Linked DNA regions of Homo sapiens: all the other regions are linked to region 1. Evidence: promoter capture Hi-C in 16 types of primary human blood cells and fetal thymus (Javierre and others, 2016). All regions are on one chromosome and are shown on one strand. The core of a region is centred on a gene start or on the middle of the fragment in contact, and the rest is flanking DNA. Distances in the headings are between cores, read along the strand shown. Region 1 holds the start of CA7 (carbonic anhydrase 7). Region 2 holds the start of CMTM3 (CKLF like MARVEL transmembrane domain containing 3). Region 3 overlaps CMTM4 (CKLF like MARVEL transmembrane domain containing 4). Region 4 overlaps CMTM4 (CKLF like MARVEL transmembrane domain containing 4). Region 5 overlaps CMTM4 (CKLF like MARVEL transmembrane domain containing 4). Region 6 has its middle 3.3 kb from the start of CMTM4.

Evidence for each region. The method cuts DNA at HindIII sites, captures the fragments that hold promoters and counts their contacts. A CHiCAGO score of 5 or more calls a contact.
Region 2: the fragment with the promoter of CMTM3 here is called in contact with the fragment with the promoter of CA7 in region 1 in 17 of 17 cell types (erythroblasts, naive CD8 T cells, M0 macrophages and 14 more); the score reaches 19.8 in erythroblasts.
Region 3: a fragment that was not itself captured here is called in contact with the fragment with the promoter of CA7 in region 1 in 1 of 17 cell types (endothelial precursors); the score reaches 8.4 in endothelial precursors.
Region 4: a fragment that was not itself captured here is called in contact with the fragment with the promoter of CA7 in region 1 in 6 of 17 cell types (endothelial precursors, erythroblasts, M1 macrophages and 3 more); the score reaches 10.7 in endothelial precursors.
Region 5: a contact is called between a fragment that was not itself captured here and the fragment with the promoter of CA7 in region 1, in 3 of 17 cell types (endothelial precursors, erythroblasts and M1 macrophages). The highest score is 6.6, in endothelial precursors.
Region 6: a contact is called between a fragment that was not itself captured here and the fragment with the promoter of CA7 in region 1, in 3 of 17 cell types (erythroblasts, endothelial precursors and M1 macrophages). The highest score is 5.6, in erythroblasts.

Annotation. Positions count from the first base shown.
Region 1 is chr16:66,841,913-66,846,341 of GRCh38, reverse strand. CA7 (carbonic anhydrase 7) reads right to left here and starts at 1,928. Exons shown (of 7, transcript NM_005182.3): 1 at 1,815-1,928. The coding sequence starts at 1,854. The region is part of intron 3 of LOC124903699 (a long non-coding RNA gene); the gene reads left to right. RefSeq lists an enhancer at 1,499-2,000. The HindIII fragment of the contact is 7,096 bases long and covers 1-2,384 here.
Region 2 is chr16:66,602,393-66,606,821 of GRCh38, reverse strand. It overlaps CMTM3 (CKLF like MARVEL transmembrane domain containing 3), which reads right to left and starts at 2,118. Exons shown (of 5, transcript NM_181553.4): 1 at 1,870-2,118. The coding sequence starts at 2,016. It also overlaps a transcript of CMTM4 not described here. RefSeq lists silencers at 1,114-1,333, 1,394-2,233. The HindIII fragment of the contact is 16,414 bases long and covers 1-4,429 here.
Region 3 is chr16:66,624,683-66,629,111 of GRCh38, reverse strand. All of the region lies in intron 2 of CMTM4 (CKLF like MARVEL transmembrane domain containing 4), which reads left to right. Among named protein-coding and RNA genes, the nearest start is that of CMTM3, 22 kb to the right of the region's middle. The HindIII fragment of the contact is 4,903 bases long and covers 193-4,429 here.
Region 4 is chr16:66,650,890-66,655,318 of GRCh38, reverse strand. All of the region lies in intron 1 of CMTM4 (CKLF like MARVEL transmembrane domain containing 4), which reads left to right. Among named protein-coding and RNA genes, the nearest start is that of CMTM4, 44 kb to the left of the region's middle. RefSeq lists an enhancer at 4,039-4,333. The HindIII fragment of the contact is 862 bases long and covers 2,061-2,922 here.
Region 5 is chr16:66,668,813-66,673,241 of GRCh38, reverse strand. The region is part of intron 1 of CMTM4 (CKLF like MARVEL transmembrane domain containing 4); the gene reads left to right. Among named protein-coding and RNA genes, the nearest start is that of CMTM4, 26 kb to the left of the region's middle. The HindIII fragment of the contact is 5,328 bases long and covers 1-4,429 here.
Region 6 is chr16:66,697,870-66,702,298 of GRCh38, reverse strand. No RefSeq gene overlaps it. Among named protein-coding and RNA genes, the nearest start is that of CMTM4, 3.3 kb to the right of the region's middle. The HindIII fragment of the contact is 4,672 bases long and covers 238-4,429 here.

The sequences.
Region 1 (4,429 bases), core at 679-3,178:
CCCAGAACATTCATGTGTACAAACACACACACAGCCCTGCAGACTACATCTGACACACGCATATGCTCTCTCACACACAAACCCCTCTGTTGGAGACCCAAGTTTGCATAAAGGACCACAGCAAAACACATGCCCATGCACACACACACACACACACACACACACACCTGCATACACACCCACAGGCGCCCACCACCTGCCTCCCAGAGGATCCATCTGCAGCCGAGAGGCTCAGCATCTCCCTGGGGAACATCCTGAGATGCAGCCTATTTTTAGAGCTACTGCCGGCTGGTGCTTCTCCCCCTTTTTGGCTTCTTAAGTTTTCCTGAGAAAACAGCAGCAGGTGCCGACAGAGCCGTGTCCCCAATGGATGACTCAGAATCGTGGCCCGGCCCCTCTGGGTTATTTTTGAAGCCCTGTGAACACTGCTGCATGCCGGCACCTCTGTCCTCTGTCCTTCCCTTCCTCGACTGGACAATCCAGCTCTGCCTGGGTGATGGGGTGGCTGCTTTGGGGGAGCAGGCCCATGGAGCAGGCTACACAGGACACTGGGTGCTCAGAGCTGGTGGGCATGACTAGCAAGAAGAGCTGGAGGCAGGGGACTCTGGCTCTGGGGGAAGCACCCAAAAGGTGGCTCAGAGCAGGTGCTGGGAGAAGATGATCCCTATGGGTCCTGTCCATCTGCCCCATGTCTGCCTGTCTCTCCCTCTCTGCTTGTCTATATCATCTTTTTCTGAATGTCTCTTTCCAGCTCTTGCATACCCAGATCTGGGGGTTCTCTTCCAAAATATGCTCCTTTGTTCTTGGGGCCCCAGAGGGAGCCAAAGACTCCACAGCACCCTCCCTCTGGTCTACTGCAACTTTCTGGCTTCCCAGACTGTGGTCCCCCACCCAACCTCACAAAGTGACTGCCTCTCCGCAGAGGAGTGGGGCTGGGGGATGTTCCTCCCATCATTACTTTTTCTTCTCCGCACCCCACCTGTCTTGCACTGGCTCCCCAGGGAAATAGGGAACCCCTTACCCCACACCCCCACCCCTGCTTGGTAAGAAATGGCCCCAAAGGGAATTGACTGCCCCAGACCCACACTCCAGCCGTCTGGCTCTCACCTTCTGCCTCTTCTCCCTTTCTCTGAGTCCTAAGGAAACTGAGGCAGGATGAAGGAGCTCTCTTCCGCGTCAGCCCAGGAGGCTGGTGTGGGCCACGGGCTCCCACGACTCACACCCGGACGTGCGCAAACACCCTGCTCGGTGTAGACACCCAGACACATGCTTGCGCCCCCAAGTGCCCCCTTCCCTCACGTACCGGCCGAGAAGGCAGCTCGGCCACTTCTGCGGGGAAATTCTCTCCGGGGGACACTGCGCCCTTGCCACGCGGAGCCCCGCTCCCCCGAGGTCCCCGCTCACTTGCCGTGCGCGCTCCCCGCAGACACCCGCGCACAGCGCTCCGCGGCGCCCGCCCCCCGCTGCCCTGGGCCACCCCCACGCGCTGCGCACGCCCGGGGCGAGTGAGTGAGAGTCTGGGCCTGGGTCTGAGCGGGCTGGGCAATCAGGGGCTTCGCGGAGGAGGCGGCAGGACACAGCCGCCAGGTCGCTTGCTGGCGGCGGGGCCACCCGGGGCGCAGCGCGGACTTTGCGTCTGGCGCGGGGGACCAAGGCTTGGGCCAAGTTCGGGGGCCGGGATGGGAAGAGGGGTCCCGCCCAGCCTGGAGTGTGGGAGCTTTCCGGTCTGGGAAACCAGCTGGGCAAGAGGGTTGGGGCGAGTGCAGTTGGGTCGGGGGTCCGAGCCAGAGGCGGTGGGGGAGGTCTGTGCCTACCGTCGTCCTGGCCGTAGCCCCAGCCGTGGTGGCCGGTCATGCCGCTGCCGTCCCCGCAGCCGTGCACCTGCCCGGTCGGCTCGGTCCGCTCGTTCGGGCTGCGGCTCCGGCCCCGCTCGCTACCGCGGAGCAGCCTCTTAAAGCAGCGGCTGGCGGGAGGAGCAGTTCCCGGGGGACCCGCCCCCCACCCCCCAGCAGGGCCAGAGAGGCCGGCCTGCCCCGCCCTCGCCCGCCGGCGAGCCAGTTGAACCCCGAGCGGAGATTCAGGGCAGGAGGAAGTAACCCTCTCCCCCCAACTCCCACCCCTGCCCTGGCTGGGCGACTATCCCTCTTTTTCCCCCAGCAACCCGTGCGGACTCTGGGACACTAGATGCCCGTGCCGCACATGGCGTCCCTTCCCTAGGCTTGCCCCAGACCTGCAAATGCCACCACCAGAGACCTGAGCTCTGGGTCCTGAATCTTTTGGGGTTGGAAAGTCCCCTTTAAACTGCAAACTACACTGACCATCAAGTGTCCAAAACTGGAGCTTCCACTGTTTGCCAGAGGCTGTTGCAGGCGCTGGACCAAGCTTTGGGTCCTTCCTATGGTATAACCCTCTCTGTTACCCTACAAGGTTGGGTGCTTCCATCAGCCCTATCTGACAGAGGAGGGGAGTGAGGCCCAGAGAAGTGAAGTGACTTGCCCAAGGTCATCTAGCCAGGGGGTAAAGGGTTCATTAGCTGGGGTTCTTACTCCAGACACTGGGGGTTTTGTGGGATTTGTTTGTTTGTTTGTTTGTTTGCTTGTTTGTTTTTAGACAGAGTCTTGCTCTGTCACCCAGGCTGGTGCTATATCAGCTCACTGCAACCTCCACCTCCTTGATTCAAGTGATTCTTCTGCTTCAGCCTTCCAAGTAGCTGGGATTACAGGTGTGTGCCACCACATCCAGCTAATTTTTGTGTTTTTTGTAGAGATGGGGGTTTCACCATGTTGCCTGGGCTGGTCTTGAACTTCTGGCCTCAAGTAATCCACCCGCCTTGGCCTCCCAAAGTGTTGGGATTAGAGGAGTGAGCCACCACTCCTGGCCTGACACTGGGGTCTTTACCATTTCTCCTTGGTGCTGGGTACAAGGGTGTGCTGTGAGTGTGGGGGTCCGGGAACCCTGGGGTAGATGCAGGGACAGGAATGGCAATGTGAACCCTTGGCCCAGGTGGAACCAGATCCCCCAAGGGGGAGTGAGAAGGAGTGGCATCAACCAATGGGCCTGAAGACAGGCAGACACCAGGTGGCTTCCCCATGGAGCTAAGTCTGAGGCTCTGACTTCCACCCTCCCTGTTATTTTGTCTACTGCTTCCTCCTTTCTTCAGGGACTCTGCTTTGTCCCTCCATAGCCTGCTGTTTGTCCCTCCTCTCCTGACCTCCCCATAACCTTCAGTACACCCCCTGGGAGCTCAGACCCTCCACCCTGCACTCAACCCCAGTGCCTGCCTTGGCCCAGTATTTTCCCACCCACGAGCCCTGGTCGTTGTTGTGCCCTCCACCTGGTGCGTCCTCTGTCTTCCACCCACTGGCTCCAGCCGGCCCAATCTGATTCATCTTAGCACGTGGCCTTGTGCCAGGGAGAGGGCTTGTCTCTGGCTAGTCCTCAGCAGGCAGTTTTGGAAAGACAAACAGAGGGGTGGATGGAAGGACAGATAAATGATCCCACCCGGGGTCCTGTACTCAGCAGGAGTCGAACAGCCACTAGTACAATGTCTGCTGTCCAGATCTTGAATAGAGACACTCTTTCAGGCCCTGCTCTTGGCTGACCTTGTACAGGAATCTGCCATCTTGTCTGCCTGGCTCCCCTTCATCTCTGTGTCTGTCTCAGTTTCCCTCTCCCAGGCCCTGAACCCCAGATCCTCAGATAGAGCTATGGAGATTAATTGATAACTGGTTGGGTGGGCCAATGTCAGTGACTGCCCAGGCCTGCGAAGATGGCCCTCTCTGATCCAGGAGCAGGAAGGGATCCTTAATATAAATATGACCCTAGGGTGGGGCAGGGGACTTATGACAGAGATAAGTAGCCCCCAAGACCAGATGTGACAGAGAATCCAACACTGTCAAGGCCCCAGGTCTCCAAGCTGGAAATGGCATCTACAGATCAAGAAGACAAAGGCATGCTTCTGGGTGAGGCCTGGACCTTCTGTCTCCCAGAGAAGCCAGCCACCCTTTACCTGGGAGAGCTGCCAACATCCTTTACCTGGGAGAGAGCTCTGGGGATAGCCCAAACTCCATTGACCCATTTCCTCTTCAGAGGGACTCAGGTCTTTTTCATATTTATTTGTAGTTCTTAAAAGATACAACTGGGCCTGGCACAGTAGCTCATGCCTGTAATCCCAGCACTTTGGGAGGCTGAGGCGGGCGGATTACCTGAGCTCAGAAGTTGAAGACCATCCTGGGCAACATGGTGACATCCCGTCTCCACTAAAATACAAAAAATTAGCCAGGCATGGTGGCAGGTGCCTGTAGTCCCAGCTACTCGGGAGGCTGAGGCATGAGAATTGCTTGAGTCCAGGAGGCGGAGGTTGCAGCGAGCCAAGATTGCACCACTGCACTCCAGCTTGGGCTACAGAGTGAGATTCTGTGTCAAAAAA
Region 2 (4,429 bases), core at 869-3,368, 240 kb after region 1:
AGGGTTTCACCATGCTGGCCAGGCTGGTCTCGAATTCCTGACCTCAGGTGATCCACCCACCTCGGCCTCCTAAAGTGTTGGGATTACAGGCATGAGCCACCACGCCCGGCCCAGGTAGAGTTCTTAAGCAACTTGGCCCTGTGGGTGTTGGGGAGGCCATCTGTCCCTGGTTTCTGTCACTGTGGCTGCGTTTGAACATGTCTATGGCTGAGTAGTTTCTAGTGGGTGCAGGAGTCCCCATGGGGACACCCAGATGCCCCACAGGAAGCACTGTGGCTGCTTCAGACAAATGAACTGCAGGGATCCCAGGGGGTCCCCAGAGCACCCCCATTTGCTCTGCACATGGCCTTGGGTGCAGCTGAGCCCCCTTTGGAAAGATAGACTAAGGCATAGAGACGGGCTGGGAGGCTGCTGGGGCCTCCCAGGAAGGCCTTCCATGGGACTGACCCAGCTCTGGCCCTCCCCTTCCTGTCTCCTATGCCTGCACCCCAAAGCCTAATTCTGGGGATTCCCCTCTCAATTCCTGTTTTTTCATCCCGCGATTTCTGGGGCCACTTCCTCTCTCTGTTTCTGTCCATCTCAGCCTCTGCACTTGCTTGGCCTGGGGGTGGGAGTGAGGGGACTAGGGAGGCAGGAGTGCCCTCAGCGGCTCCTGTGAACCCTGAGTGCTGACCGTTCACCCTTCCTTATCCTCCCTGACCTGGATTCCTGACATCTGCTGGGCCCAGGGTGGCCTCTATGCTCCTGCTGGACATATGCCTCCCTCTTATGAGGTGGTCTTGGGTGGGGATGGGGGGGTTCAAGCCACTCTGGGGACGGTGGATTCGAGGCTTCTCCCCTCAAGTGGCTCCCAGTGGTCTCCAGGGTGGGGCTGGGAGTGTGGGCTCGGAGTGTGGCATTGGTGTCTCACTTGGGCGTTGGGCAGGTGGCCTCTGGGCTGACCGTGGGAGAGGCTGCAGGACCACCTTCTGCCCTCTGCCCTGAGTGACCAGGGAGAGGTCCCGGAGCAGAATCCCCCTTCCTCCTGCCCCCACCCTCCTGGCCGCTCTCACTGGGCCCCTCAGTTGAGCCACCTGTCAAATCAGGCGCCTGAGCGCTCTCATCTGTAAAGTGGGGACAAGGGCAGGAAGCGCCAAGTTCCTGGGATCTAAGCAACAAGTGGCCGCCGCCGTGCGCCGCTCTCTCCTCCCGCCTCCCCCGGTCTCCGGCCCGGCCTCTCCCTCCCCATCCCCAACGGCCCAGCGCCACCCCTACCCCACAGCGGACAGTGCGGGCGCCTCCGGTGTCCAGAGGACAAAGAAGCCCCACCGGCCGGGGTGGGGGCGAGGGCGGAGTAGGAAGGAGCCCGGCCGCGGAGGGGAGGAGGGCGATGAAGTCACCGCGGGGCCGCCTCACCCAGTCCCGGGGGTGGGGGATCCCTCCCGCTCCGCACGGCCCCCCGCCGGCTCGGCCCCGCAGGTCGAGGCCCCGGCCCGCACTACCCGCTCGCAGGAAAGCGGACCCCGCTGCGGCCCGGGAGTCCCGGAGGTCCGAGTTGCCCGAGTCCCCGGGGCCCAGAGAGGGCGGGGGCGCCTGGCTCACACAGCAGGACCCACATCCCCGGGCCCCACCCACTTCCCACGGCCCCCAGCTCTGGACTCGCGGGGACAGCGCCGCGGATGGCCTGGGCTCGGGCCCCGCCCCGCCGTCCAAAGTTTGGGGACCTCGACCCAACTTCGCCAGGCGCCCGAGAGAAGTCGGCCGAGGCGGCGCGGAGAGGGGGTATCGGAGCACGGCGGCCGCCCCCGGACCCCACCCGCGCCCCGACGTCCTCCTCCGAAAGGAGCCGCGCAGTCCTAGCGGGGCGGCCGAGGGTCCCGCCGCACTCACCGACTCGGCCAGCAGGAGGCGGCCTTTGAGAGAGCAGAGGAAAGCCCGCGCCGGCAGCAGGGCGCGGAGCCCGGGGACCGCGGGGCCGGGACGGGAGCCGCCGGCAGGCTCGGGGTCCGGGTCGGGGTCGGGGTCTGGGGGCCACATGGCGGCGGCGGCGGTAGGGCCGGGGCTCGGCCTGGCTCCCCTCTTCTCGCGCCCGGAGGGAAGCGGAAACCCGGGCTGTGCGGAAGGAGGGCAGGCGACACTGGCTCGCGCAGGGGCGCATCCCCCGCCGCCACGCCCCGCCCCGCCCCCACCCGCTCCTCCAGCCCGCCCCTCCCCCTCGGACCCCGGCTGCGGGGGATGCTGGGCCCGACCCGCCCCCTCCCCGGCCTGGGGCCTCCGCAGACTCCACCTTCTTCTTCACCCTGGTTCGGGCCGCTGGAGACCTCCCGATCACCGCCCCGGCACCCCTTCGGAGCTCCCACCCGTCTGCCCCTATCCAGAAGGGCTGTCTATACTCGCTGTCTCCGGTCTAACTTCCTGCCCGTGCGCGTGTCTGGGATCCGGGAACCCAGGCGTCTAAACAGCAAAGACCCCGGCCGTGATGTCGGCTCCGCAACCCATGCCCTCTCTTTTTCTTGGGGGCCGGAGTTTTCTTGCGACTTTCTTGGCCACCCCTCCTGTCCCCGGCCAGCCCCACCCTCCTCCAGGGCCTCTTTGTTGGCTGTTCCAGGCCTCGGTCCTGCACCCGCCTCCCCCAACCCATTCTCAGAGGACTCTCAGACCTGCAAGCGCAGCTCCAGGCACACACACAGACACACACACACGCGCGCGCGCGCGCAAACACACACAGGCACGCACATCTGCAGGACTTCCTGACCTGCAGTCCCCCCACCCCAACACATCTCTCTCTCTCACACACACACACACACACACTCCACACGCACATGCGTGCACATCTAGAGAGCGTCTGGAGTTCAGCGTGATCAAGACCCAGCTTCCTGTGCCTCTGCGAAGGGCACTGCCCCCTCCTTTCCTTCCACCTGACTAGCGGAGACCTGCGGGTTGTCCTTGTCCCTCTTCACCGGCAGTCTGTAACCAAGGTCCTCCCACTTTCACCTCCTATAACTTTCTCTGATCTCTGTCTACTTCTCACCACCACTAGATCCGAAACCATTCCTGCCTGCTCCCCGCTGAACTGCTGTGATGGTGTCTTTAAGAGGCCCTTAGGTTTTCTCTCTGGGCAGCCGGGGGAGAGCTTATGGCACAGTACTGCGCACCCTTGACATAACTAACTCCATCTTAGAAAAAGACTTCATTTTATATTTCATAGGGTGCTTTGCCAACAAGGGCAAGATGTTTTGTTTAATAAAAAATAGAAGGTCAGGCGCTGTGGCTCATGCCTGTAATCCCAGCACGTTGGGAGGCTGAGGTGGGTGGATCACGAGGTCAGGAGTTCGAGACCAGCCTGGCCAATATAGTGAAACCCCGTGTCTACTAAAAATACAAAAATTAGCTGGGCGTGGTGGCACCGTGCCTATAATCTCAGCTACTCAGGAGGCTGAGGCACAAGAATCGCTTGAACCCGGGAGGCATAGGTTGCAGTGAGCCAAAATCACACCACTGCACCCCAGCCTGGGCGACAGAGCAAGACTCTGTCTCAAAAAATAAAAAAAAAAATAAATAAAGACTGCGTCCAACCACATAAGGACACAAAGAAGCACACTGTTCCTCTACCATTTCTCACCAGAGCACTCTGTGACTACAAAACAGCAGCCCAGCAGCCTTAACTGACAACCATCCCACTGCCGTTCATAAGAACTCTGCATCTGCCTCCCAAGGCTCTGCCCCTCAAAGACTCTGCAAGACCCTCAAGCCCAGACCAGGATTCCTTTTGTCTTCTTCCTTACCCTGGAACTGGTTCCTTAACCCTTTCTCCTATCTCTTTTTCTCTTGATGTTAAATGCTACTTTGTTTGTTGTGGAATGTTTATAACATTTACATGTGGATTAAGTATACTATTATATATGGTTTGCAATATTGACTGACTTGTGGAGTGGCTTGAGCCCATGTGCTCACTACTGAGTGAACGGGAAGTACTAAGGAAAATTGGCTCCTTGGGTCTGGGTGCAGTGGCCCATGCCTATAATTCCAGCATTTTGGGAGGCTGAGGCAGGCAGATCACCTGAGGTCAGGAGTTCGAGACCAGCTTGGCCAACATGGCGAAAACCCATCTCCACTAAAAATACAAAAATTAGCTGGGCGTGGTGGCACAGGCCTGTAACCCCAGCTACTTGGGAGGGTGAGGCATGAGAATCACTTGAACCCAGAAGGCAGAGGTTGCAGTGAGCTGAGATCGCACCACTGCACTCCAGCTGCACTCCAGCCTGGGCGGCAGAGTGAGACTCTGTATGAAAGAAAAAAGAAGAAGAAGAAGAAGAAGCAAATTGGCTCCTTGGGATAGCTTGTGGCTTTTGTTTTTTTTTACCCTTGGGTATAGGGTGAATAAAAATCTGACACTGTGGAAAGACACAAACACGTGTGGACCTAGTTATCTCTTTTTTCTTTCTTGAGA
Region 3 (4,429 bases), core at 1,395-3,894, 220 kb after region 1:
GTGCTTGATGCTGACTTAAGATTTGCAGTATTCCAGTATTAAGCCTTTCAAGTTGTGTGAGTAATAAGTGCTTATTGTAAAACAAAACAAAACAAAACAACAAAAAAACCCCAAAAACTAGAAGATAATAGATAATTTAAAAAAAATCATCTGATGACCCAAGAGAAATGAAAACTTGTTCACACAAAAGCTTGTAGGTTCATAGCTACATTATCTATAATAACCAAAAAGTAGAAATAAATGTCCATCAACTGATGAAGGATAAATAACGTGGTGTATCTATACAATGGAATATTATTCAGTAATAAAAAGGAATGAGTACTGATACATGCTACAACATGAATAAACCTTAGAACCATTATACTAAGTGGAAGATGTAGGGGAAAAAAAGAGAGATCAGACTGTTACTGTGTCTATGTAGAAAGGGAAGACATAAGAAATTCCATTTTTACCTGTACCTTGAACAATTGCTTTGCTGAGATGCTGTTAATTTGTAACTTTGCCCCAGCCACTTTGCCCCAACCTTGAGCTCACAAAAACATGTGTTGTATGGAATCAAGGTTTAAGGCATCTAGGGCTGTGCAGGACGTGCCTTGTTAACAAAATGTTTACAAGCAGTATGCTTGGTAAAAGTCATCGCCATTCTCTAGTCTCAATAAACCAGGGGCACAACGCACTGCTAAAAGCCACAGGGACCTCTGCCTTGGAAAGCCGGGTATTGTCCAAGGTTTCTCCCCGTGAGATAGTCTGAAATACAGCCTCATGGGATGAAAAAGACCTGACCGTCCCCCAGCCCGACACCCGTAAAGGGTCTGTGCTGAGGAGGATTAGTAAAAGAGGAAGGCCTCTTGCAGTTGAGATAGAGAAAGGCCACTGTCTCCTGCCTGCCCCTGGGAACGGAATGTCTCGGTATAAAACCTGATTGTACATTTGTTCAATTCTGAGATAGGAGAAAAACCGCCCTATGGCGGGAGGCGAGACATGTTGGCAGCAATGTTGCCTTGTTATTCTTTACTCCACTGAGATGTTTGGGCAGAGAGAAACATAAATCTGGCCTACGTGCACATCCAGACATAGTACCTCCCCTTGAACTTAATTATGACATAGATTCCTTTGCTCACATGTTTTTTTTGCTGACCTTCTCCCTATTATCATCCTGTTCTCCTACCGCATTCCTCTTGCTGAGATAATGAAAATAATAATCAATAAAAACAGAGAACTCAGAGACCGGTGCCGGGGCAGGTCCTTGGTATGCTGAGTGCCGGTCTCCTGGGCCCACTGTTGTTTCTCTATGCTTTGTCTCTGTGTCTTACTTCTTTTCTCAGTCTCTCGTCCCACCTGACGAGATATCCCACTGGTGTGGAGGGGCAGGCCACGCCTTCAGAAGAGGCCAGGCACAAAGCACATGTTATGTCATTCTATTTGTATGAAATGTCCAGAATATTTGTGGCAGATTTCACACACAGGAAAAAAAAAATGTCCAGAATAGGCAAATCCATAGAGACAGAAAGCAGATTGGTGGTTGCTTAGGGTTGGGGGAGGAATGAGAAATAACTGCTAATGCGTATGAGGCTTTTTTTGGAGTGCTAAAAATGTTCTAAAATTACATTGTGATTGAATTATATACTTTAATTGGGTATATGTTATGGTATGTGAATTATATCTCAATAAAGCTGTTTAAAAATACGTGATATGACCCAATGAAGGGTAACCACTTAAAATACTTGAGTATAAATCCTTCTAAACTGTTCTCTCTAGACAGTCTTTTGCGTATGCATGTGTGTTGTGATATGTGAGTGCAGAAAAATGGAACCATTAAAATCATGCTTTTTCATTTAAATTATTGTACCTTACATGTTAAATATATAACTACGTGATTATTTTTAATGACTGCATAGTGTTCCATTATGGAAATACCATTTTATTGAACAACTCCCCTATTGAGCACTTTGTTTGCTTCCTTATACTTAGACCTTTTTGCCTTATATCATTTATTTATTTATTTTTTTGAGACAGAGTCTCACGCTGTCCCCCAGGCTGCAGTGCAGAGGCGCAGTCTCCGCTCACTGCAGCCTCGACCTCCTGGGCTCAAACAATCTTCCTACCTCAGCCTTCCAAGTAGCTGGGACTACAGGAACGCACTACCATGCCTGGCTAATTTTTTTGAATTTTTTTGTAGAGACAGGGTTTTGCTGTGTTGCCCAGGCTGGTCTCGAACTCCTGAGCTCAAACAATCCACCCACCTCAGCCTCCCAAGTGTTGGGATTACAGGCAGGAGCCACCATGCCTGGCCCCCAATATGATTTTCTTTTTTTTCCTTTTTTTTCTTTTTTTTTTTCTTTGAGACGGAGTCTCATTCTGTCTCTCAGGCTGGAGTGCAGTGGCGCAATCTGGGCTCACAGCAACCTCTGCCTCCTGGATTCACGCAGTTCTTCTGCCTCAGCCTCCCGAGTAGCTGGGACTACAGGCATGTGCTACTATGCCCAGCTAACTTTGTTTTTTTTTTGAGAGGGAGTCTCACTCTGTCGCCCAGGCTGGAGTGCAGTGGCGAGATCTTGGCTCATTGCAATCTCCGCCCCCTGGCCTCTAGCGATTCTCTTGCCTCAGCCTGCCGAGTAACTGGGACTACATGGTGCATGCCACCGTGCCTGGCTAATTTTTTGTGTTTTAGTAGAGATGGGGTTTCGCCATATTGCCTAGGGGTGGTCTTGAGCTCCTGAGCTCAGGCTGTCCACTCACCTTGGCCTCCCAAAGTGCTGGGATTACAGATGTGAGCCACCACGCCTGGCCACAGCTAATTTTTTAGTAGAGACGGGGTCCAGCTAATTTTTGTATTTTTAGTAGAGACGGGGTTTCACCATATTTGCCAGGCTGGTCTCCATCTCCTGACCTCAGGTGATCCGCCCACCTCGGCCTCCCAAAGTGCTGGGATTATAGGCATGAGCTGCTGTGCCTGGCCTCCCTTTTTCTTTTTATTCTGTTGACTTGTTAGAAAAACTGGGTCATTTATCCTGTAGAGGGTCTTGCAGTTGAGTTGGCTGCATGCACCCTCATGGTAGTGTTTCATATGTCCTTCTTTCCCCATTTTCTCTGTGACCTAGTCATTGATCTCAGGGCAGTGTGGTGCTATAGCAGCTGCTCTGACAATTGAAATGTTTTCTGATCTGCTGTGCCCTTGAGGCAGCCACTTGTCACATGTGGCCACTGAGCACTCGAATTGTGGCTAGTGTGATTGAAGAGTGAAATTTTTTATCTTATATGAATTAGTTTAACTTCAGTCACATATGGCTAGTGTTTGCCCTATTGGACAGCACAGTCCTAGAAGCTCAATTATATTTAGATTCATCTTTTAAGCAAGTGCTTCAGTATTTAAATATGATTCAGTGGGATTTGAGGAGGCAGATATGTTATGCTCTTGTTAGCAGTTGCTGGCGTTTTTTTCCCCTGGTTTAATCTGGTTTCTTAGCCTCAGATCATGTTGAAAGATTATTTTTTATCTTTTTAAAATAGGCTTTTTGACATATTTTTTCCCTGTATTTGCTGTTCCCATTCATCATCTCATTCTTCACTCACTACTGTTAATGATCATTACTAAAGCAAATTTAAAACTACTGATACTCCTACAACTTTAAAATTTTTGACTGTTTTCTTTTTTCTTTTTCTTTTTTTTTTTTTTTGAGACAGAGTTTCGCTCTTGTTGCCTAGGCTGGAGTGCAGCGGCGCAGTCTTGGCTCACTGCAACCTCCGCCTCCCGGGTTCCAGCGATTCTCCTGCCTCAGCCTCCCGAGTAGCTGGGATTACAGGCATGTGCCACCACACCCGGCTAATTTTGTATTTTTAGTAGAGACGGGGTTTTTCCATGTTGGTCAGGCTGGTCTCGAACTCCCAACCTCAGGTGATCCGCCCGCCTCGGCCTCCCAAAGTGCTGGGATTACAGGCATGAGCCACCGTGCCCGGCCTGTTTGTTTTCTAGCCCTTTGCTGCATCTCTGTTTTTATGTAGTCACTGTTAATGTTGATACTGTTTTATTTGATGTTTGACCTCACAGTGTATTGTATTTTCCCCTCGTTTCTGAATAGTCTTTGCTTTGGGAAGTATATTTTATATTCTTTTTTTACCCCTACAGCATCTTACCCAGAGCTGAGTGTAACTAAACGCTTCCTGGTTTGAATTTGTGAAAAATTTGCCCTGGCTTACGCAGGTCATAGCTGAAACCCATCCTGCTGGCAGATGCGTCTGAGCAGAGCTTTCCATGAGCCAGGAGCAGGTTGGGTGTCTGCTGCAAGACTCAGCACTGTTATGATGCCAGCATTGTCTCTTTACATCTTATTTTATTATTTTATTGAGACAAGAGTCTCGCTCTGTCACCCAGGCTAGAGTGCAGTGGCACGATCTTAGCTCACTGCAACCTCTGCCTCCCGGGTTCAAG
Region 4 (4,429 bases), core at 1,242-3,741, 190 kb after region 1:
TAGGTCTTTTTGGCCGATAATAGCTATTTTTAAAAAAGAAATAAGTTCAGCTGGGCGCAGTACCTCACGCCTGTAATCTCAGCACTTTGGGAGGCCGAGGCAGGTGGATTGCTTGAGTCCCAGCCTTGGCAACATGGCGAAATCCTGTCTCTACAAAAATTAGAAAAATTAGCCGTGTATGGTGGTGTGTGCCTGTGGTACCAGCTGCTTGGGAGGCTGAGGTGGGAGGTTGGCTTGAGCCTGGGTGGCGGAGGTTGTAGTGAGCACAACACTCTAGCCTGGGTGACAGAGTGAGACTCTGTCTCAAAAAAGCCCCCCGAAACCCAAAAAACAAAAAGGAAATTCGGGTACATTCTACATGTTCACATTTCTTTACTGGACTGGAGCTTGGTGAAGACAGGAAATATATCTGAGGGCTCTGTTGGCCCTTTCACATAGTAAGGACAGTGGCTGCCATTTAGCTGAATACTCACTCTTGGGCATGGTGCAAAGTATTTTACATTTAATCCTCACAGCAATCCTTTAGCATCAGAATTGCCCCTTAATTCATTTTACAGTTGAATAAATAAAAGAAAACCCATTTTACAATTTATAAAGAGAGGCTCAGAGAAGAGAAGTAAATGTGCCCAGGGTCACAGTGGCAGAGCTGGGATCACGGGCCAGGGCCGTGAGCCTCCAGAGCCCCACTCCTTAACTACTGTGCGACGGGCTATGCTAACGGCAAGAGGATTTTTGCACTCACATTTGTGGGTGCCTGGTGATATTACGTAGAGGTGCCCAGTTTGTGGGGGAACAGTTATGGCCTGGGTCTGGGGCTTAGAAAGACATTCAGACTAGAAGGGTGAATTTGGGAGTGTGAGTCTGGAGGAGGGAGTCTGTTGGTAAGCATGTGTTTCATGAGAAGGCAGCAGAGGCGAGGCCCTGGAGAGCACCTGCCATGTGACAGGAGGCAGGATGGCAAGGGGGAGCAGTGGAAGTCCAGTGCAGGTGGAGGGTGATCACTAGTGCCTAGTGCTGTAGAGGGTTCTGGGGTCCAGATTTGAACCCCAACTCTGCTGTTAACAAGACTTATCTTGGCTGGTTTGCTTAACAACTTTGCTTCACTTTGCTTGTCAATAGGATGGGGATTAAAAACCATGTTCTTCCTGGGGTGATGAAAATGTTTTGTAATTGTGTAATAGTGATGGTTGCACAACTTTGAATATACTAAAAGTCACTGAATTGTGTATTTTAGAGAGTGAATTTTATGGTGTGTGAATTATATCTTAATTAAAAACTGGCTGGGTGCAGTGGCTCACACCTTTAATCCCAGCACTTTCAGAGGCCGAGGCAGGTGGATCACTTGAGGCCAGGAGTTTGAGACCGGCCTGGCCAACATAGCAAAACCCTGTCTCTACTAAAAAAAAACACATAAAAATTAGCCAGGCATGATGGCACACGCTTCTAATCCCAGCTACTCGGGTGGCTGAGGCAGGGAGAATTGCTTGAACCCGGTAGGCAGAGGTTGCAGTGAGCCGAGATTGCTCACTACACTGCAGCCTGGGCAACAGAGCAAGACTCTGTCTTAAAAACAAACAAACAAAACCCAACCAACCATGTTTCTATCAGGATGGAATGAATTTTAAATTAAAGGCTAGAATGCTTATAGAAGTGCCCAGCATTGTATTTGACTCATAGTAGAAGGGCTCAGCAAATATAGACTTTTTAAGGAAGGCCACAGTGTCACACATTCTAGGTTCCACTGTTCTCACTGTCTCTGGAGCTGGGGACACCATTATAACCACCATGCTGAACAGTAGTCCCTGACCTATGGGGTAAGGATGGCGGCCCTGGGGGTCATAGGTTTGGGCCTGTACTGCTAACCCTTAGCTCACTGCATCTCCCTCTCCCAGAGACTGGTTCCAAGACCTCTCTCTCTGGATGGTGTAGAGGTCCTGGGGGGTTGCCAGGGTAGTGGGTCTCACGACTGAGCTGGGTTTTCCCAATGGACTTCCATCTGGCCTCTTATGTATGATATGCAGTTCACTATTTTGGCTGAAATCAATCTTTAGCAAAAAGCTTCTCCCAGCCTGCTCGTTTCTCATTCAATGAGAAATGCTGTGTCCTTACTCTCAGTTAAGGTGGTTGGCCAGAGTTGTTAGGTTGGGGAAGTACCCAGGAAGTAAAGCAGGAAGAGGAAGGAAAGGGGGAGGTTTTGCTTTTGTATTCTGGGGATGCGACACTGCTTTCTGGGATTTCAGCTTCATCTATGAAGCTAGGACCATGAGAAAGTAAAGGGGAAAAGAAGATCCTAATGGCAGCAGTGTAGTTAAACAGCTTCAGATGTTTATGCTTTAAGGGCAGCTTGTTTCCTCTGTCCTCTACATGTGCTTTGTTTTTGCTCCATTACTAATTTAAACGGTCTGAAAATTTGACTTTTTGAGCAGGGTAGCATTCGCAATAAGATTCTGTGGGCAATCTCTTGGCAAGAAAGATGCTGACCGTCCTGTGGTTTTCTGAAATCATGTGCAGTTATATCATCAAACCACATAATAAGGATTTCTGGATTTTCTTTTAAAAATAAGAAAATGTTTCGCACTTTATTGGATAACCCTGTTTGTGTGCTCTAAGTAGTTAGATACCAAAAAATAAACCTATTTTAATTGGAGCCTGTGATACAGTATCCAGCCGTTGTTGATGGGTAACCTGTGGATTTAATGTATGCGTTAGAGCATGCTTCTAAGTATGAAAATTTACGTTGAAGGTGAGAATCTTGCCAAAAAATTGAATTGAATGCAATGTCCAAAGTTCAACTCTTATTTATGGCTTTAGAATTCCAAAATATCAAAATTGTTTACACAGAGAACCCGCTTGAAACATCTGTCAGGGACACTGATTGAATAGGCCTTAGTGACACAGGCCACACCCAGACCCAACCAAGCTTTCTGGGGCATCAACAACCCAATGCTTCTGTCCTCAGTGGAAAACGGTGCCTTCAGGGGTCTGCGGTAAGCACCACTTAGAGTGGAGTGTGGCCTCGGAGGCTGGCGGGCTTTCTTTGAGAGTGCACACCTTGCTGCCGTCTGCTGCACCCCAGCCTTGCCTGCGCTTTGTTTTCTTTCACCATCCTGAGTCCTTGGAAGCCTCTCCCTTTGACCCCATTTCTCCTTTTCTTGTCAACAATGAGGAACTTACTTGCCTCCACCTCTTGGCTCCTTTGCTCAACTAATCACTGTTGACTAATTAGTCCTGCTGGCCAGCCCAGGTGGCTTTAGCTCCTGAGGGCCATCTCTGCCCTTCCAGAGCAGGTAATTTTCTATTACTTCTTTGCTACCCTCAGGTCCTAGCTTGGGCACTGCTAGAGAAAAGCAATGAAACCAAAGATCACATGCAAACACCTTGGTTGCAGATTGAATAATTTACACTTGCAATTAGCTCCTTTGTTTCAGAACCAAACATTATTTGCTCATTGCTCGATTGTCTTAAGGGAGAGGAGGGTGATATTTTAAGTTTATCATCCTCATGGGATGGCCTCCCTTGGGAGGGGAAAAAACTCATGGATTATTTTTCTTAGAAAAATTAAGATATTACTACAGCTAGATCCCTTTGAGAATGAGCAGTCATGTTGTGGGCTTTGTCAGAGTCTCAGCACTGGCTACCCCAGGTCTTGTATTGCTTTCCTTGAAGAGAAATCATACATGGTGATTTTTCCCATGGTGAAAGGGGTGGGAAGACTCTGGATAAGTCATATGTTAGGCATCTTATCTAGGAGAATGAGGTAGGGGAGGAACTAGCTTTGGGACCTGGCCACACGATGGAGGTGCTGCCTGCTTCCTGAGTCGGGGTGTGAGGATCAGAGATGTTTGGACTGTGCCTGGTGCAGAGCCCTGTAGCTTCCTTACCTTATTGATGCTCCCTAAATGGAAGCCGTTGTTATTCGGAGGTGCCTGGCATTGCAGAACTATTTGCCCCCGTTTGCAGACCATATAAATGGCTTCTGGCCTGGGAACTTATGTTTTAAGGTGATCTGTTGTTTAGCGTGTGTATAAAGAGTGGCTTAAAACTCCCCATCTCAACACCGTGAAAGATGGTGCGGAGAGGCTTCGTGCCTCTTCTGTAGTTCCGGCTCCAGGAGCCCATCTTAACATCCCCTGTTGGTTGCTAAGAGAGGAGCTGGCTTCGGAAGCACAGTCCCTGCTTTGCTCTCTGCTGCCCCCTCTGGATTCTCTGTTCTGCACATTCTGAGGTCTTCCAGCAGCCGTTAACAACTAGCCTTTTTCGTCTGTGGTTAAATACAAGCCCTGTCTCGTCTTTCAGATATTTTTTCAGTATTGGCAGGAATAGAGACATTTGAATTTCGAATGTGCTGGAGTTGATTAGAGCTTCGTCTGATTCTGAAGACACTTTGAACCCTGCTGTGTGTGCGCGTGTGGTCACCACTCAGCTTCGT
Region 5 (4,429 bases), core at 640-3,139, 170 kb after region 1:
AGTGAGACTCTGTCTCAAAAAAAAAAAAAAAGACTGGGTGTGGTGGCTCACATCTGTGATCCCAGCACTTTGGGAGGCTGAGGTGGGAGGATCACTTTAGACCAGCCTGGCCAACATGTGAAACTCCGTCCCTACTAAAAAATACAAAAAAAAAAAAAAAAAAAAAAAAATTGGTGTGGTGGCGCGTGCCTGTAATCCCAGCTTCTTGGGAGGCGGGGGCAGGAGAATCACTTGAACCTGGGAGGCTGAGGTTGTGGTGAGCCGAGATTGCACCACTGTGATGGGAGCAAGACTCCGTCTCAAAAAAAAAAAAAAAAGCCAGGCGCAGTGGCTTACACCTATGATCCCAGCACTTTGGGAGGCTGAGGTGGGAGGATCACTTGAGGTCAGGAGTTCAAGACTAGCCTGGCCGACATATGAAACTCCGTCTCTACTAAAAATACAAAAAAAAAACAAAACAAAAAACTAGCTGGGTGTGGTGGCACGTGCCTGTAATCCCAGCTTCTTGGGAGGCTGAGGCAGGAGAATCGCTTGAACCGGGGAGGCTGAGGTTGTAGTGAGCCGAGATCGCACCACTGCAATCAGAGACTCCATCTCAAAAAAAACAAAAGTGTAACTCAAAAGTGACCCTTAAGAATCAGAGGAATAATAAAAGATTGTTTAGTGGAGTTGCAGGTATTACATTTTCTGAGATATGTTACTAACTTATATATTACATAGGTTATATTATCAGCCTATATATAATAATATATACATATTATATATATATAAGTTGTTGCAAAAGTAATTACGGTTCTGGTCATTAGGTTTTTTTTTTTTTTTTGAGACGTAGTCTTGCTGTGTCTCCTCCCATCTGTCTCCCAGGCTGGAGTGCAGTGGCTCAATCTCGGCTTATTGCAACCTCCGTCTCCTGGGTTCAAGTGATTCTCCTGCTTCAGCCTACTGAGAAGCTGGGATTACAGGCGCACACTGCCACACCCAGCTAATTTTTTTTTTTTGTATTTTTAGTAGAGACAGTGTTTCACCATGTTGGCCAGGCTGGTCTCAAGTTATCCACCTGCCTCGGCCTCCCAAAGTGCTGGGATTTCAGGCATGAGGCACTGTGCCCGGCCTGGTCATTACTTTTAATGACAAAAACTACAATTACTTTTGCACCAACATATGTGTTATAAATATATCCTGATAGATTATATATACGTGTGTGTGTGTGTATTTTGAGACACGGTCTAACTGTGTTGCCCAGGCTGGAGTGCAGTCATGATCATGGCTCACCACATCCTCGACCTGCCGGGTCCAAGTGATCCTCTGTAAGTCTCCTGAGTAGCTGGGACCACAGGTGTGTGCCACCACACCACTCCTGGCTAATTTTTTTTTTTAAATATTTTTTTGTAGAGACCGGGTCTCCCTGTGTTACCCAGGCTGGAGATTATATATTTGAAATATTCATTACTGGTCTGTCTGTCCTCTCATCATGTTGCTAATTTCACTGAATGCCAGAGGGCATCTGATGGTCTATTTGGGTAGAGTTTTCCCAGCTAGGCCAAGTTATAGGTGCCTGGCCAGCCTGTGGGTTGGTGCCCCTGGGTCAGGTGCCCACTCCTCTTGTGTGCTAAGGATTCTGAGCATGACAAGCTGTGTAAGCAACAGTCTGGAGTCACTTTCCTTGGAGGTTCAGGGGAGAGGAGGAGAAGATAAGGGATGAGAATGGAATGGTTAGTTCTAGAAGGGATCAGTGAGCCCGCTGATGTTTTCCTATGAAACCATTGTTGTTCTCTCCATCACAAGTCTTTGCTGAGTGCTACCCTTTCCTTCACACCTCTTCCAAATTTTCTGTCTCCCCTGGGCCCACTCCCGTCTTTGTTTCCATCTCAGGAGGCCTTCGGCCTCTTCACCATCACTTACAGGTCTCCTTCCATCCAGCCACCCGTGCCGCTTGCCTGATTCCTTCCCCTCTATTTGGAGACTCCCGAAGTTAGCCCTTCTCTTTGAGAAGGCTTCCCTGTTTCTATTCTTCATTCTCCAGCCGCACATCTGGTGAAGTGTCTTTTGGGAATCTGGTACTGTATGAGGCTTACAAAGCTGCTTTACGTCAAGGAGCTTACAGTCAAGTCATACATAAATTTGTCTGTAATATAAATATCAGTTTTTTTATCTTGAATATTTTCCAAAATGGCAAAAACTTACTCTCTGATTACAAAAAAATTTGTGTCCCTTGTTTTAAAAAGTCAGACTGATGTAGAAAAATAGAGAAAAAAGTAAAAATACTGGTGTTCTCCTCAGCTAGAGAGGACTCCCATTAACAGTTAGGTCTACATTGTTTTGGACTTTGTTCCCATGCGCATACTTGTAAAAATGGGTTATTACACATACCACAGTTTGCTTCAGGGTATGATGCAGAGTGGTTTTTGAAATTACAGATTTACATTATTACTTTTTTTTTTTTTATATGGAGTCTTGCTCTGTTGCCAGGCTGGAGCGCAGTGGCCCGATCTTGGCTCACTGCAACCTCCACCTCCTGGGTTCAGGCGATTTTCCTGCCTCAGCCTCCTGAATAGCTGGGACTACAGGTTCGTGCCACCACGCCCAGCTAATTTTTGTATTTTTAGTAAAGACGGGGTTTCACCATGTTGGCCAGGATGGTCTCAGTCTCTTGACCTCGTGATCCGCCTACCTCGGCCTCCCAAAGTGCTGGGATTACAGGCGTGAGCCATCGTGCCTGGCTACATTATTACTTTTAAGAACTTTTTATGGAAGTGCAATATACGTATAGAGAAGTGCACGATTTTTTTTTTTTTTTTTTTTGAGACAGAGTCTTGCTCTGTCGCCCAGGTTGGATCTTGGCTCGCTGCAGCCTCTGCCTCCCAGGTTCCAGTGATTCTTCTGCCTCAGCCTCCTGGGTAGCTGGGATTACAGGTGCATGCCACCAAGCCTGGCTAATTTTTGTATTTTTTTTTTTTGGTAGAGACGGGGTTTCACCATGTTGGCCAGGCTGGTCCCAAACTCTTAACCTCAGGTGATCTGCCCGCCTTGGCATCCCAGAGTGCTGGGATTACAGGCGTGAGCCATCGTGCCCGGCCGAAGTGCACAAATTTTAAATACACAACTAAGATCTGAACATGATGCTTTGTTATGCTTTAGCCTCTCTCTGGTTGGCTCCATGTAGTAGACTCTCTCTTGCTTTTGTTTTGGCTGCCATTTTGAAAATTGCTTTGTTTCCTTCTTTACATTATTTTTGTTTCATGATTAAGTGGCAAAATTGAAGGCTTTATTCTCTACTTTGAATCTAAAACAAATAGTTAAGGCTGATTTAGAATTCGTCATATAGGTTTGAATTAAACAAATCTAATAAAGGAGTGTGCACCATTTTCTTTCTGAGAGCATTAAAAAATCCAGCAAATGGCTGGGCACAGTGGCTCACGCCTGTAATCCCAGCACTTTGGGAGGCCGAGGTGGGTGGATCACAAGGTCAGGAGATCGAGACCATCCTGGCTAACACAGTGAAACCCCATCTCTACTAAAAATACAAAAAAAAATTAGCCAGGCATGGTAGCGAGTGTCTGTAGTCCCAGCTACTTGGGAGGCTGAGGCAGGAGAATGGCGTGAACCTGGGAGGCAGAGCTTGCAGTGAACTGAGATTGCTCCACTGCACTCCAGCCTGGGTGACAGAGTGAGACTGTCTCAAAAAAAAAATCCAGCAAATGTTTGAGCTATAGAGGTTTGGGCACATGCCAAGGATGTTGGTGGTCTTCACATGCTCTTTTTTTTTTTTTTTTTAATTAACATGTAGTAAATTGACTTTTTTTGGTGTACAGTACTATGAGTTTTAGCATGCACATATATTCGTGTAGCCACTACCATAATGAGGATACTGAACAACAGTTTCATCAACCCACAAAACTTCCTCGTTCCCTTTCTTTGTAGTTACATCCAATTCTTGGCAACCTCATCTGTTTCTCATCAGTATAGTTTTGTCATTTCCAGAATGTCACAGAAATGGAATCATAAGTATGTACTTTTAAGACTGTCTTTCATTCAGTGTAATGCATTTGATATTCATTCATGTTGTATTTTATGAATAGTCATTCCTTTTCATTGCTGAGTAGTTTTCCATTGTAGGCATGTCCCACAGTTTCTTTATTCACCTGTTAAAGGGCATTTGAGTTATTTGCAACTTTTGGTGATTATGAATGGAGTTACTGTAAATATTCATACCATTTTTTTCTGTGAATGTAGGTTTTTATCTCACTGGGGTTAATACCCAGGAGTGAAATTGCTGGGTCATAGAGTACGTGTTTCACTGTACAGGAAACAGCTAAGCAGTTTTCCAGCGTAGCTATACCATTTTGTATTCTTCCCAGCAGTACATGGGAGTTCCAGTCGCTCTGCCTCTTGGCTAGCCCTTCATAGTCCTTTTTTTTAAAGCTGTTGT
Region 6 (4,429 bases), core at 1,324-3,823, 140 kb after region 1:
TTAGTAGAGATGGAGTTTGGCCACGTTGGCCAGGCTGGTCTCAAACTCCTGACCTCAGGTGATCCACCCGCCTTGGCCTCCTAAAGCGCTAAGATTACAGGCATGAGCAACATGCCTGGCCCTCAAACACATTCTTTTTTTCTTTTTTTTGGAGACAGAGTCTCACTCTGTTGCCTAGGCTGGAGTGCCGTGGCATGATCTCGGCTCACTGCAACCTCAGCCTCCCTGGTTCAAGCTTTTCTCCTGCCCAGCCTCCCGAGTAGCTGGGATTACAGGCGCCCATCACCATGCTTGGCTAATTTTTGTATTTTTAGTAGAGATGGGTTTTCACCATGTTGGCCAGGCTGGTCTCGAACTCCTGTTTCATGGGGTAATGGAGGACACTTGGCTTGTGCTTACTTTTTGGCTACTGTGGACAGTGCTGCTACAAACCTTCATGAAGAAGGTTTTTTTGTGTTTCTTTTTATATAAGGGCATAAAAATAAGGTTTCGTTTGTTTGTTTGTTTAGATGGTGTCTTGCTGTGTTACCAGGCTGGAGTTTGTAGTTACTCATAGGTGCAATCATAGCAAACTACAGCCTTGAATTCCTGGGCTCAAGTGTTCTTCCTGCCTCAGGCTTCTGAGTAGCTAGGACTACAGGCCTGTATCATGGAGTCTGGCATGTCTCATACAAGTTTTTGTTTCAGCACCTATTATCAATTTTTTTCTTTCTTTTATTTTCTTTTTTTCTTTTTTCTGTTTTTGAGAAAGGGTATCACTCTGTCACCCAGGTTGGAGTGCGGTGGTACAATCTCAGCTCACTGCAACCTTCCTCTCCCAGGTTCAAGCAATCCTCCCACCTGAGCCTCCCAAGCAGCTGGAACTACAGGCATGTGTCACCACACCCAGCTAGTTTTTTGTATTTTTTGTAGAGATGGGGTCTTGCCATATTGCCCAGGCTGGTCTTGAATTCCTGGACTTAAGCAATCTACCTGCCTTGGCCGCCCAAAGTGCTGGGATAACAGGCATGAGCCACTGTGCCTGGCCACCCATTATCAGTTCTTTTGGGTATATACGCAGGAGTGGAATTACTGGGTCATATAGTAATTCTATGTAACTGTTTGAAGAACTGCCAAACTTTCAACCCAGCAGTTACACCATTTACATTCTTACCATCAATGTATGAGGGTTCCAGTTTCTCCACATCCTCACCAACACTTGTAATTTCCTGTTGTTCTTATTATAGCTATCCTGGCAGTTATGAAGTGGTTTTGATTTGCATTTCCCTAATTTCCTTCAACTAATAACATTGAGCATATTTTCATGTGCTTGTCTAAGAGGTTTTTTTTTTTCTCTGAATATTCCTTTTTGGTAACATCTTATTCTAAACTTTTTTTTTTTTTTTTTTTTTAATAGAGATGGGGTCTTGCTATGTTGCTCAGGCTGGTCTCGAACTCCTGGGCTCAAGCCATCTGCCCACCTCAGCCTCCCAAAACGCTGGGATTACAGGCGTGAGCCACCTCACTCAGCCTTATTCTAAACTTTTTTTTTTTTTTTTTTGAGACAGAGTCTTGCTCTGTCACTCAGGCTGGAGTGCAGTGGCACAATCTTGGCTCACTGCCACCTCTGCCTCCCGGGCTTAAGCGATTCTCCTGCCTCAGCCTCCTGAGTAGCTGGGACTACAGACATGCACCACCACTCTGGGCTAATTTTTGTTTTTTTAGTACAGATGGAGTTTCACCATGTTGGCCAGGCTGGTCTCGAACTCCTGACTGTAAATGATCCACCCACCTCGGCTTCCCAAAGTGCTGGGATTACAGGCATGTGCCACCATGCCCAGCCTTATTCTAAACTTTTTATGGTTACAGTATCTTCTCAGTTTACCTGAGAATACTGATATATACATGTGTATAAAATGGTATATATATGAACACACATATATATACCATTGTAAACATTTAATGACATATCTTTTTCTTCGTTTTGACCTCTGTTATGTTATAGGCTTTCCTCAAATGTTTGGTGACTCTTAGTTGTCATTTATATTTCAAAGTAGAGTCCTCAAAAGCTCATTGGAAGCTCTGTGCCTGTAGGTGAGAAGTCTCAACTGTGGGATTCTGTGTTGGGTGATCTGGCTGGGCTCCACTTTGGGGTACTTCCATTGTCAGGATCTTTGGGTCTTTCTTCTTGTGCTAATCATGTTTTCCAGAGAGAATGTGAGGTCTTGGCTACCATGATCTCGGGAAGGATGTCTGGGGGTCTCATTCATTAAGCAAACTTTCACTTACTCCACCTGTTTTTAGTACAGTATTCCTTCCCTGAACTGTGCCTAGTGATCTCTAACTAAGAGGCCTTCTGTTTCACCCTCTCCAGAGAACAAAGCTCCAGTCTTGGGGGATGGGTGTGAAAAGGGATCTAGGGATCCACTTGCTTCTTTAAAAGACTTTCACTTGCTCTTCTTGTTTATTACTCCTGCCTTCACCCCCTAACTCTACACTTACTTGGTGCTGCCCATTCCTGAGCCTTTTGTTCTGTGATATAACCTGTGCTGCATAATATTTCAGCCTTTCCCCTGCCAGTTTAGGGTTTGGCTTTCTTGGATCTGCTAAGTTACAGTTGCCCATTTGCTTCCCAGCTTCCAACATTTTGTTGCCATTGTCTCCTTTCCCATTCCATTTTTTTTTTTTTTGGTAGCCCAGGCTGGAGTACAGTGGGGTGATCTCAGCTCACTGCAACCTCCACCTCCCAGGTTCAAGTGATTCTCCTGCCTCAGCCTCCCGAGTAGCTGGGATTACAGGCGCTCGCCACCATGTATGGCTAATTTTTTTTTTTTTTTTTTTTTTTTTATTTTTAGTAGAGACAAGGTTTCAACATGTTGGCCAGGCTGGTTTTGAACTCTTGACCTCAAGTGAACTGCCACCTCAGCCTCCCAAAGTGCTAGGATTACAGGCATGCACCATGGTGCCCTGCCTCCTTTGCCATTCTTTATCCCAACAGTTTAATGCCCAACCCCACCCCCTCAAAAAAATCCCTGTAACTGTCATTTCACTGGGATTTTGGGAGAAAGCAGAGGCAAGAGTCTACATCCAACCACTCAATGTCACCACCGTCTAGCACCATTGTCTATCTCAAGTTCTTAGTATATTGCTTAATCCATAGTAAGTGCCCAATAAATATTTGTTGATTTAGGGTCAGTCCTCTATATCTGTGGTTTCTGCAGCTATGGATTCAACCAACTGCTGATAAAAAAAAATTTGGAATAAAATAGGCTGGGCACAGTGGCTTATGCCTGTAATCACAGCACTTTGGGAGGCCAAGGTGGGCAGATCACTCGAGGTCAGGAATTCAAGACCAGCCTGGCCAACATGGCAAAACCCCGTCTCTACTAAAATCACAAAAATTAGCCAGGCGTGTTAGTCGGTACCTGTAATCCCAGCTACACAGGAGGCTGAAGCATGAATAATTGCTTGAACCTGGGAGGTGGAGGTTGTAGTGCGCAGCAATCATGCCACTGGGTGACAGAATGAGACTCCGTCTCAAAAAAAAAAATTATTTGGAAAAAACAATAAAAAATAAGCTGGATGTGGTGGCTCATGCCTGTAATCCCAGCACTTTGGGAGGCTGAAGTGGGAGGACTGCTGAGACCAGAAGTTTGAGACCAGCCTGGGCAACATAATGAGACCCCATCTCCAAAAAAAAAGAAAGAAAAAACAATTTAGCCAGGCATGGTGGTGGCATGCCTGTAGTCCCAGTTACTTAGAAGGCTGAGACAGGAGGATTGCTTAAGTCTAGGGGGTCGAGGTTACAGTGAGCTATGATTGTACCACTGTACTCCAGCCTGGATGACAGAGTGAAAAGTCTATTTTAAAAACAAACAAAACAAAACAAAACAGAAAAACAGGTGGGGCACGGTGGCTCACATCTGTAATCCCAGCCCTTTGGGAGGCTGAGGTGGGTAGATCACTTGAGGCCAGTAGTTTGAGATCTGCCTGGCCAACATGGTGAAACCCTGTCTCTACTAAAAATGCCAAAATTAGCTGGGCGTGGTGGTCCCAGCTGCTCGGGAGGCTGAGGTGGGAGAATCGCTTGAGGTGGAGGTTGCTGTAAGCAGAGATCTCACCACAGCGCTCCAGCCTGGGTGATGAGCAAGACTCTGTCTCAGAAAACACACACACAAAAAACCCCCAAACAACACACACACGCACACACAAAAATATAGATAAAAAGTAATACAGTAGAACAATTATTTAAAGTATACGAGAAGATGTGTGTAGGTTATATGTAAATACTACACCATTTTATATAAAGGATTTGAGAGCATCTTCAGATTTTGGTATTTGAGGGGGTCCTGAAAACAAGCTCCCTCTCTTGCCCCCATACAGAAGGACAACAGTATTAGAGTCACTGTCCTTCCTATCTTTGAAAAAGTTGAGGGCTGGGCATGGTCAG